Linked DNA regions of Homo sapiens: region 2 is linked to region 1. Evidence: promoter capture Hi-C in 16 types of primary human blood cells and fetal thymus (Javierre and others, 2016). All regions are on one chromosome and are shown on one strand. The core of a region is centred on a gene start or on the middle of the fragment in contact, and the rest is flanking DNA. Distances in the headings are between cores, read along the strand shown.

What was found. Contacts are between HindIII fragments. The CHiCAGO score rates a contact against its expected background, and 5 or more counts as called.
Region 2: a fragment that was not itself captured here is called in contact with the fragment with the promoter of CAV1 in region 1 in 1 of 17 cell types (endothelial precursors); the score reaches 7.8 in endothelial precursors.

What each region holds. Positions count from the first base shown.
Region 1 is chr7:116,523,353-116,527,671 of GRCh38, reverse strand. CAV1 (caveolin 1) reads right to left here and starts at 2,636. Exons shown (of 3, transcript NM_001753.5): 1 at 2,580-2,636; 2 at 983-1,147. The coding sequence starts at 2,609. RefSeq lists silencers at 935-1,034, 1,265-1,654, 4,063-4,319 and an enhancer at 4,283-4,319. The HindIII fragment of the contact is 5,040 bases long and covers 1-3,519 here.
Region 2 is chr7:116,405,966-116,410,148 of GRCh38, reverse strand. No RefSeq gene overlaps it. Among named protein-coding and RNA genes, the nearest start is that of CAV2-DT, 91 kb to the left of the region's middle. The HindIII fragment of the contact is 477 bases long and covers 1,800-2,276 here.

The DNA of each region.
Region 1 (4,319 bases), core at 1,387-3,886:
GCCCTCCATTTCTCAGAGAAAACCCTTTGCCAAGGATGGCTCTAGCCCATGATATCCCAATCCAGATGTGTTTAGGCAATAAATTCCTCCCACTAGATTGGCTAAAAGGGTCAAAATCTAATAACAATGATAATTTAAAACTGACCACTGAGTCAGATCTAAGTCTGGCCAATAACCCAGTCCAATTATTTTTAATCTCACCAAGCACATCCTGAAAGTATGAAAAGGAACTCCAACCTGAATGTGCCATTAGCTCAGGGCAGGCTGACCCAGGTAGCTACTAAAGAAGCAGCTTTCCACATCTAAGTGCAGGTGTCCATAGATAGAAGAAACCAAGAGGCATACATTGTTTTTGGTTTTGTAAATTTGCTTAGTTGTGCACAAGTGACTTGTTAGTCTAGTTAAAGTAACTTTCATATGTATATGAATAAGTACGTATTTTCTTTGTCTTTAGTCCTAGGCATTTCCATCCACTGTAGTATTTTTAAGAAAATCACTTCCCATCGTTTTAGTTGGGGGAACATGCCCATCTTGTATTCTGACTCATCCTCAGCACAAGACCTGACACAATTATCTGACTGTCTTAATGCCACGTGCAGTGGGGACCTGTCACTAGACTTTCAACCTGGGAATGGATAGGAACCATCTCACCGTCCCAAGGAGTATGGGCCGTCTGTTGCTGAGGTCAATAGGCTCATTTGCTAGGATAAAAGTGTAGTTATAGGAACTTCTACAAAACTCACTTTAGCTGAATTTCAGCTGAACTAACTATTGGGGGGAGATGGGGGAAGGGAGATGTAACGTTTCTGCCGACTGCGGGAGCTCCCACACATCAAACCCACAAAACTCTGTGTGTGTGTGTGTGTGCGCGTGTAGGGGGCGGGGTGGGGTGTGCGTACACGGCAATGCTAAAGAAGGATGCACGGGCTAACTGCCAGAGGAGAGCTGTCCCAGCCCTTCCCTGTTGGTCGCCTTGGCTTACCTTGACCACGTCATCGTTGAGGTGTTTAGGGTCGCGGTTGACCAGGTCGATCTCCTTGGTGTGCGCGTCGTACACTTGCTTCTCGCTCAGCTCGTCTGCCATGGCCTTGTTGTTGGGCTTGTAGATGTTGCCCTGTTCCCGGATGGGAACGGTGTAGAGATGTCCCTGCAGAGGGCGGAGGGCGGACGGCCAGGACGGGGAGGGCGGCAACGGCGGTGGGAGGAAAAATGCAAAAAGAAAAACAAGCGATGAGAAGTCAGCCTGGCGGCGGGGGAAACCTCGAGCTCGAAATCGAACTAACCGCTCCGACAGCTACGGCTCCGTGCACAGAAACCGCCTGCGCGTAGCCAGCTTTTTAAGAGGATCTCGCAGAGGACACCACACCCCTCTGTACTCTGCAGGGCGCGCCTGCCTCCCCCGCCCGCCGCCAGGGGTCAGGGCAGGCCCCGCCGCGCGGTCCGAAGGCCCCCGCCCGCGCACGCCCCGGCTCAGCACGCAGGACCCGCAGGACCCGCAGGACCTCGGCGGCGAGGGGGCAGCCGCAGGCTTCTCCCGGACTCCCTAAGCCGAGTCGCTCTCGCCCTGAGCGCTTCACCTGTTTCGCGTTCCCGTCCCCGGTCCCTATTACCCCTGCCCCGGTAATCCCTTCCAGCTTTATCTAAGATCCAACAGCAGCCGCCCGACCCGTGGAATGTTCCCTTTATCGCTGCTTCTTGGCCGCATCCCCCTCGCACCTGCCCGCGCCCCCCACCCTGCCTCGGCCCTCTCTTGTCCCTCCACGGCTCTCCCTGCTCAATCCGCCGTGATGATCACAATCCCGAAAGTCCCCATTTTTGGCGGAGCCAGGCACCAGACCCCCTAAATGTCCTAGAACTCAGTCTCACCTGCGCAGCTCCCCCGACCCACCCTCAGGGCACTCCCAGGCTGCGGGCGGGTGGCTGAAGGGCAGCTACGTGTTGGAAGACGAGGTTTCCACACCCGGGCAGAGCTCCAGCGCGTGGAGGGCGTTGGAAGTGATGGTGGCAGTTTGGGGAGGGGAGGTCTACCTCTCTCGGAACACCCCTGCCAGACGCCAAGATGCAGAAGGAGTTCTTGAGATGGTTCAAGAACTTTGGAAAGTGCAAACACACCGCGCGCCGCCTGCGGGACCTGCCGGTCTGGGCGCCTGGCGGAGAGTCCCGGGGACTGTCCCCAGGACTCGGGTAAATAACACCTCCACCCTGCACTCCACCTCTTCGAACCCCCAGCAGGCAGGGCCGGACCGCGGGGGTCCCGCGACAAGGGAGCATCCTAGACCCATCCAGAAAACGCGTCCTGGGCCCAACAGACCCAATCTCAGGACCCCAATCCCCTTTTCCGTGTCCTCCTAGCTCAGGGGCTCCCTAGGCCCCCTCTCCATTAGGAAAACATAAAACATTCCTGGCTTCTCTTCACCTCCCCGCCCAGGCCCATTCCTCAGCGGTGCCAACGCCAGAGGAGTGCTCCGAAGTGGAGAGAGGGCTGGGGCCAGGGCAGCAGTCGGGATATTTGGAGAGGCAGATAGCAGAAGCGGACACTCCCCGCACGCCCGAGCCGGCGCCCCCCCACGGATGCCTACCTCCGAGTCTACGTATTTGCCCCCAGACATGCTGGCCCGTGGCTGGATGAAAACTGTGAGGAGGTTTCCCTGGGCTGTGCTTTAAGGGAACTGAGGAAGGAAGATCTTGTATTGTATGGGGGGAAAAAAAGGCGCTGGAGGGGGGCGGTGGCTGGGAGGGAGCCTCCTGGCCGCCCGCCAAAGGTTTGTTCTGCTCGCGGTTGGCCCGGACGTGTGCTGCGCCGGGTCTAGGCACATCCCCAAGGTTCTGGCAGCAGAGGGCGGGGAGCGCCCGCAGCGAGCAGAGAGCGAGTGAGAACGTTTCTCCCGCGCTGGGGTGCTTGGGCAGATTATTTTAAACCTGAGGCAACATTTTCCCTGCTCTGAACCACCGAGAGGCGTCCCGGGGAGAGCGAATGTTTTCGCAGTGCATCATCTCAGCAGGGGTGGAGGGAGCCGACGCGCCTGCAGAGATGCCCAGTATGGGCAACCAAGGCGGCAGAAACAATCCACAATCCTGCCCTGTCCTAAGCCGTCCCTTCCCACCTCCCCCACCCCCCGCCCATCGCCCAAGTTCCATCTCTGCCTTAAAACACATGTGTCTCCCTGTTTCACAGAGGGAGGGATGAAAGACGGCTAGGAACCTTTAGGTACATTTCACATCTAAACTTTGTGGATCCCTTATGGAAGGAATCTGTGTGGGTGCCTGTGGTGTACTTTTGGTGACACTCGTTTACATCTAGTCGGTGTGGATGGAAACTTAAGCAGGCATGCAGAATTTAACATTTCCCATCCGTTTCTGAAATGTCTCCCAAACGCTTCGAAATAAGAAATGAAGATCTTTAACTTTTCTATAATTTTATTACCGATATTTTCTGGAACAATGGAATTTTATGCCAACAGGTTATGCCATATTTGCAAAATACACAAAATGTTTATAATTGTAGAATTATTTAAAGCTTCAAGTTTATTACCAGAGAAGATTTTTTTTTAATGTGCTTGGCTGTGAGGAAAGATTTGACTTTTCTAATTGACTAGACTTAAAAAAAATGTGATAGCGATTAAAGTATTTTGTCTGTTCCTGAATCTGGGGCTTCTGTCTTTACTTTATTGTAAAGAAGCACAAAATGAATTAAATAGTAATCAGTCATTTTACTCTTGAGCTGTAATTAATCAGGAAACTCATTATCCAAAAATGAAAGGACATGTTACTTATGCTTCCATATGCAGTCAAAAGTCAAAGTATCACTTGAAATTATTTTAAAAAAAAAGCTGGAGTACACTTGAAGGGGCACAGGTTAAAATTAAAATGGAGAGGGGAATGTGGGTTGGGAGTAAGAGGGAGGAGAAAGGGAAATGGATGGAATGCTGAAAGAGTTGATTATTTAGTTAGAGAGAAGACACAAAAGTATAAAAGAACTATAAAGGACAGGCTATTGTTGGTAGCAAAAATTTTTGGAACAAAAGATCAGTTTTAACTAAGAATGGCAGGGAAAGTGTCACAATGTTACAAATGTTGGCATGCCTGTAATTATGTTGGCCATTCATGATTAGCAGACTAAAGATCTTTCAAAAGTTGGATTTTCCCAAATACCACATTAGTGGGAGCTAAATGATGAGAACTCATGGAAACAAATAGGGAAAAAACAGGCACTGGGGCCCACTTGAGGGGTGGAGCGTCGGGGAGGGAGAGGAGCAGAAAAATAACTATTGGGGAGTAGGCTTTGTAGCTGGGTGATGAAATAATCTGTACAACGAATC
Region 2 (4,183 bases), core at 789-3,288, 120 kb after region 1:
CATTTCATTCACTTCATCTTACATCACTGATGCCCTTTCTTCCAGTTGATCGCATTGGCTCCTGAGGCTTCTGCATTCTTCACGTAGTTCTGGAGCCTTGGTTTTCAGCTCCATCAGCTCCTTTAAGCACTTCTGTGTATTGGCTATTCTAGTTATATATTCTTCTGAACTTTTTTCAAAGTTTTCAACTTCTTTGCCTTTGGTTTGAATGTCCTCCCGTAGCTCAGAGTAATTTGATCGTCTGAAGCCTTCTTCTCTCAGCTCGTCAAAGTCATTCTCCATCCAGCTTTGTTCCATTGCTGGTGAGGAACTGCGTTCCTTTGGAGGGGGTGAGGCGCTCTGCTTTTTAGAGTTTCCAGTTTTTCTGCTCTGTTTTTCCCCATCTTTGTGGTTTTATCTACTTTTGGTCTTTGATGATGGTGATGTACAGATGGGTTTTTGGTGTGGATGTCCTTTCTGTTTGTTAGTTTTCCTTCTAACAGACAGGACCCTCAGTTGCAGGTCTGTTGGAGTACTGGGCTGTGTGAGGTGTCAGTCTGCCCCTGCTGGGGGGTGCCTCCCAGTTAGGCTGCTCATGGGTCAGGGGTCAGGGACCCACTTGAGGAGGCAGTCTGCCCGTTCTCAGATCTCCAGCTGCGTGCTGGGAGAACCACTGCTCTCTTCAAAGCTGTCAGACAGGGACATTTAAGTCTGCAGAGGTTACTGCTGTCTTTTTGTTTGTCTGTGCCCTGCCCCCAGAGGTGGAGCCTACAGAGGCAGGCAGGCCTCCTTGAGCTGTGGTGGGCTCCACCCAGTTCTAGCTTCCCGGCTGCTTTGTTTACCTAAGCAAGCCTGGGCAATGGCGGGCGCCCCTCCCCCAGCCTTGCTGCCTCCTTGCAGTTTGATCTCAGACTGCTGTGCTAGCAATCAGCGAGACTCCACGGGCGTAGGACCCTCCGAGCCATGTGCGGGATATAACCTCCTGGTGCGCCGTCTTTTAAGCTTGTCGGAAAAGTGCGGTATTCGGGTGGTAGTGACCCGATTTTCCAGGTGCCGTCTGTCACCCCTTTCTTTGACTAGGAAAGGGAACTCCCTGACCCCTTGTGCTTCCTGAGTGAGGCAATGCCTCGCCCTGCTTCGGCTGGCGCACGGTGCGCGCACCCACTGACCTGTGCCCACTGTCTGGCACTCCCTAGTGAGATGAACCCGGTACCTCAGATGGAAATGCAGAAATCACCCGTCTTCTGCGTCGCTCACGCTGGGAGCTGTAGAGCGGAGCTGTTTCTATTCGGCCATCTTGGCTCCTCCCTAGTGGACTGTCTTGCTTTGTCTGGTAGTTCTACAGAATTAAGCTTTATTATCCTAAAAAAGAAATTATCACATCTCCAGGAAAAGCTTCCTCTGGGGTATAAGCATTTTGCAAATCTAGGGAGTCCCTGTGTGAAGTATCACTTGCCTATTTATTGAGTGTTTCCCTAAATGACTAGTGTCATCTCCCAATGGTCATTAATATTCTTCTCCAAAGGTTCTATCTGTCAAAAATGGGGAAATGTGACCCAGTATAAATAGGATGAGGTATTTTCATTGGTACTTGTGGTCTACCCTGGCTTGCTGCTGCTCCCAAGGGGAGACAGAAGTTCTGTTCAACACAGTTGGAAAGTTTCTGGACTCCAAGTGTCAAACCAGGAGTGGAGACGCAGCAATTTTCAAAAGAAAACAAAACAAACAGTCGACACATCTATCTCCTTTTCTCTTCTAGTGCATATTCTATCACCTCCTCATTTAAATTGCACTCTCTCACTTTTGTTTGAACTAAAGCTTGTGTTCATCTTGAGCCAATAAAAACTACAAAAAGGAAACATCTGTATTGTTAAGTAACTAATGCTGCTATGATAACCCAGCAAAGTAACAATCTAATTAAAGATCATATGGCCAAGGTTTTAGCAGATAATCTTTTCAAGGCAGAATAAAATTTGTTACTATGTATAACTGTTACATTTACATACATGAAATTAGATTTGTATCTAATTTATTTTTGTATTACCTTATATTTTTTAATATTTTAAATATGTACTGTTAATATTCCATGACATTTGATCTTTGAAACAAATTGAAAGATGGGTATGTTACATAGACTTAAAGACATATAAATAATTAGTAAAATTGCTGACACAAGAGCCTAGCAAATTCCTTACAAAATTATCTATGTTAGAAAATATGGTTAAATTCTAATGAAGCGAGTTGTTTTGGAAATTTTCATTGACTTGCTGGTAGGGTTTTTAAATAATGCAGAAGCTTTCTGGAAGGCAATTTCAAAAACTTTAAGTGTTCATACCCTTTGACCAGAAATTCTACTTCCAAGAATATTTTCTAAGTAAATAATTAGGTATTTGCAGAAAGACTTAGCTACAAAGAGGACCTCTGAAGCATTGCTCATGTATTATTTAGAGTAAATAACAATAGTACTTGCCTTTATTAAAAAACCAGCATGGCACATGTATACATATGTAACTAACCTGCACAATGTGCACATGTACCCTAAAACTTAAAGTATAATAAAAAAAAAAGTAATCCAGAAATTTTATGACTCAACATTCAGAAATGTATATTTTTTGCTTACAGAAGTTCCACAATGGATGTTCCTGATGAGTGTGCATTCGTATAATTATTCAGAGACTCAAACTCCTACCATTTAATGTCTCCTCCATTTCTGGAGTCCCAGGAGTCCTCTTCAAGAGAGCCTCTGTCTTTGGCTGACCTTCATGAGAAAGTATATGGAGGTCACATGGGTGATATTTCATGCTGAGCCTGTAAGTTACACAGATCCCTCTGCTCACATTTCACGGGCCAGACAACGCATGGCCACTCCACAGTATGGGAAGCTGGGACCTGCACTCCAGTTCTGTGCTTAGACAATAGAAAAGGAAGATTTTGAACATTTAATAGTCTTTCTTCAACTTATAATTGGAAATACATTTTAAAATAGTCATATATTCATATAGTAGAATAAAAAACTTGATAGTAGTTATCAAACTTTTTTACCATTCAATACAATGAAAAGATGTTCTTGATGTATCGAGTGGAAAGTGTTTGTTACAAACAATGTTTTTGTCACAAGTTTTATGGTTATTCACACAGCCATGCTATCATCTCAGCAATGTCATACTTCCTGCTTTCCCAAGTTTTCCTTTTTTTTCTTTTTCTTCTATGTGCTTAGTAAAGAAAGCATGATGGCTGGGCACGGTGGCTGATGCCTGTAATCCCAGTACGTTGGCAGACCAAGAGGGGAGGATCACGAGGTCAGGAGATTGAGACCATCTTGGCTGCAGTGCAACTCTGTCTCTACTAAAAATACAAAAATTTAGCCAGGCATGGTGGCCAGGCGCCTGTAGTCCCAGCTACTCGGGAGGCTGAGGCAGGAGAATGGCATGAACCTGGGAGGCGGAGCTTGCAGTGAGCTGGGATGGCACCACTGCACTCCAGCCTGGGCGACAGAGTGAGACTCCATCTCAAAAAAAAAAAAAAAAAAAAAAAAGAGAAAGCATGATATGTAGAAAGATTTCACACTAGGGAACCTGATAGATGTAGGTTTGAATATGGATATTTGTCATTTATTAACTGAGTTAACTGAGCCCAATTAATCTAACTTATATGAGGTTTATTTCTTTTTATTTTTAAAAGATAAAAAAATCTACTTCATAAGGTCATATAACATACTTAACACATGTAATATGCTTAACAAAGTGTCTGGCATATATCATGTATATTATATATGTAACATATGTACATATGTAATATACTTGACAAAGTGTCTGGCATATGTAATGTATTTTTAAAATCCTATAAATGATATAGTGATATCAATTGTTACTTTTATGATATTATGATCAGGCTACTCCAAGTACATAGATAGCAATTTGTTAAAAATGTATTCAAATGGACTGCAACTTTCACTGTTCTTTTCCTTAGCCTCCAATGGTTTAATGTATTTCTTCTGAATGTTTTTCTTAATATCCAGCGTCTTCTCACAAACCTTCCAAAGTATATATCATGAGCTAGGAATATTTATTCCTATTTTTGAATAAATATTTAATTTTAGTTTTAATAAATAATTATAAATACGTTATAAATAATTACAAATAACAATAATTTTAATAAAATTAATTTTAATTTTAATAAGTAAAAATTAAATAAATATTTAATT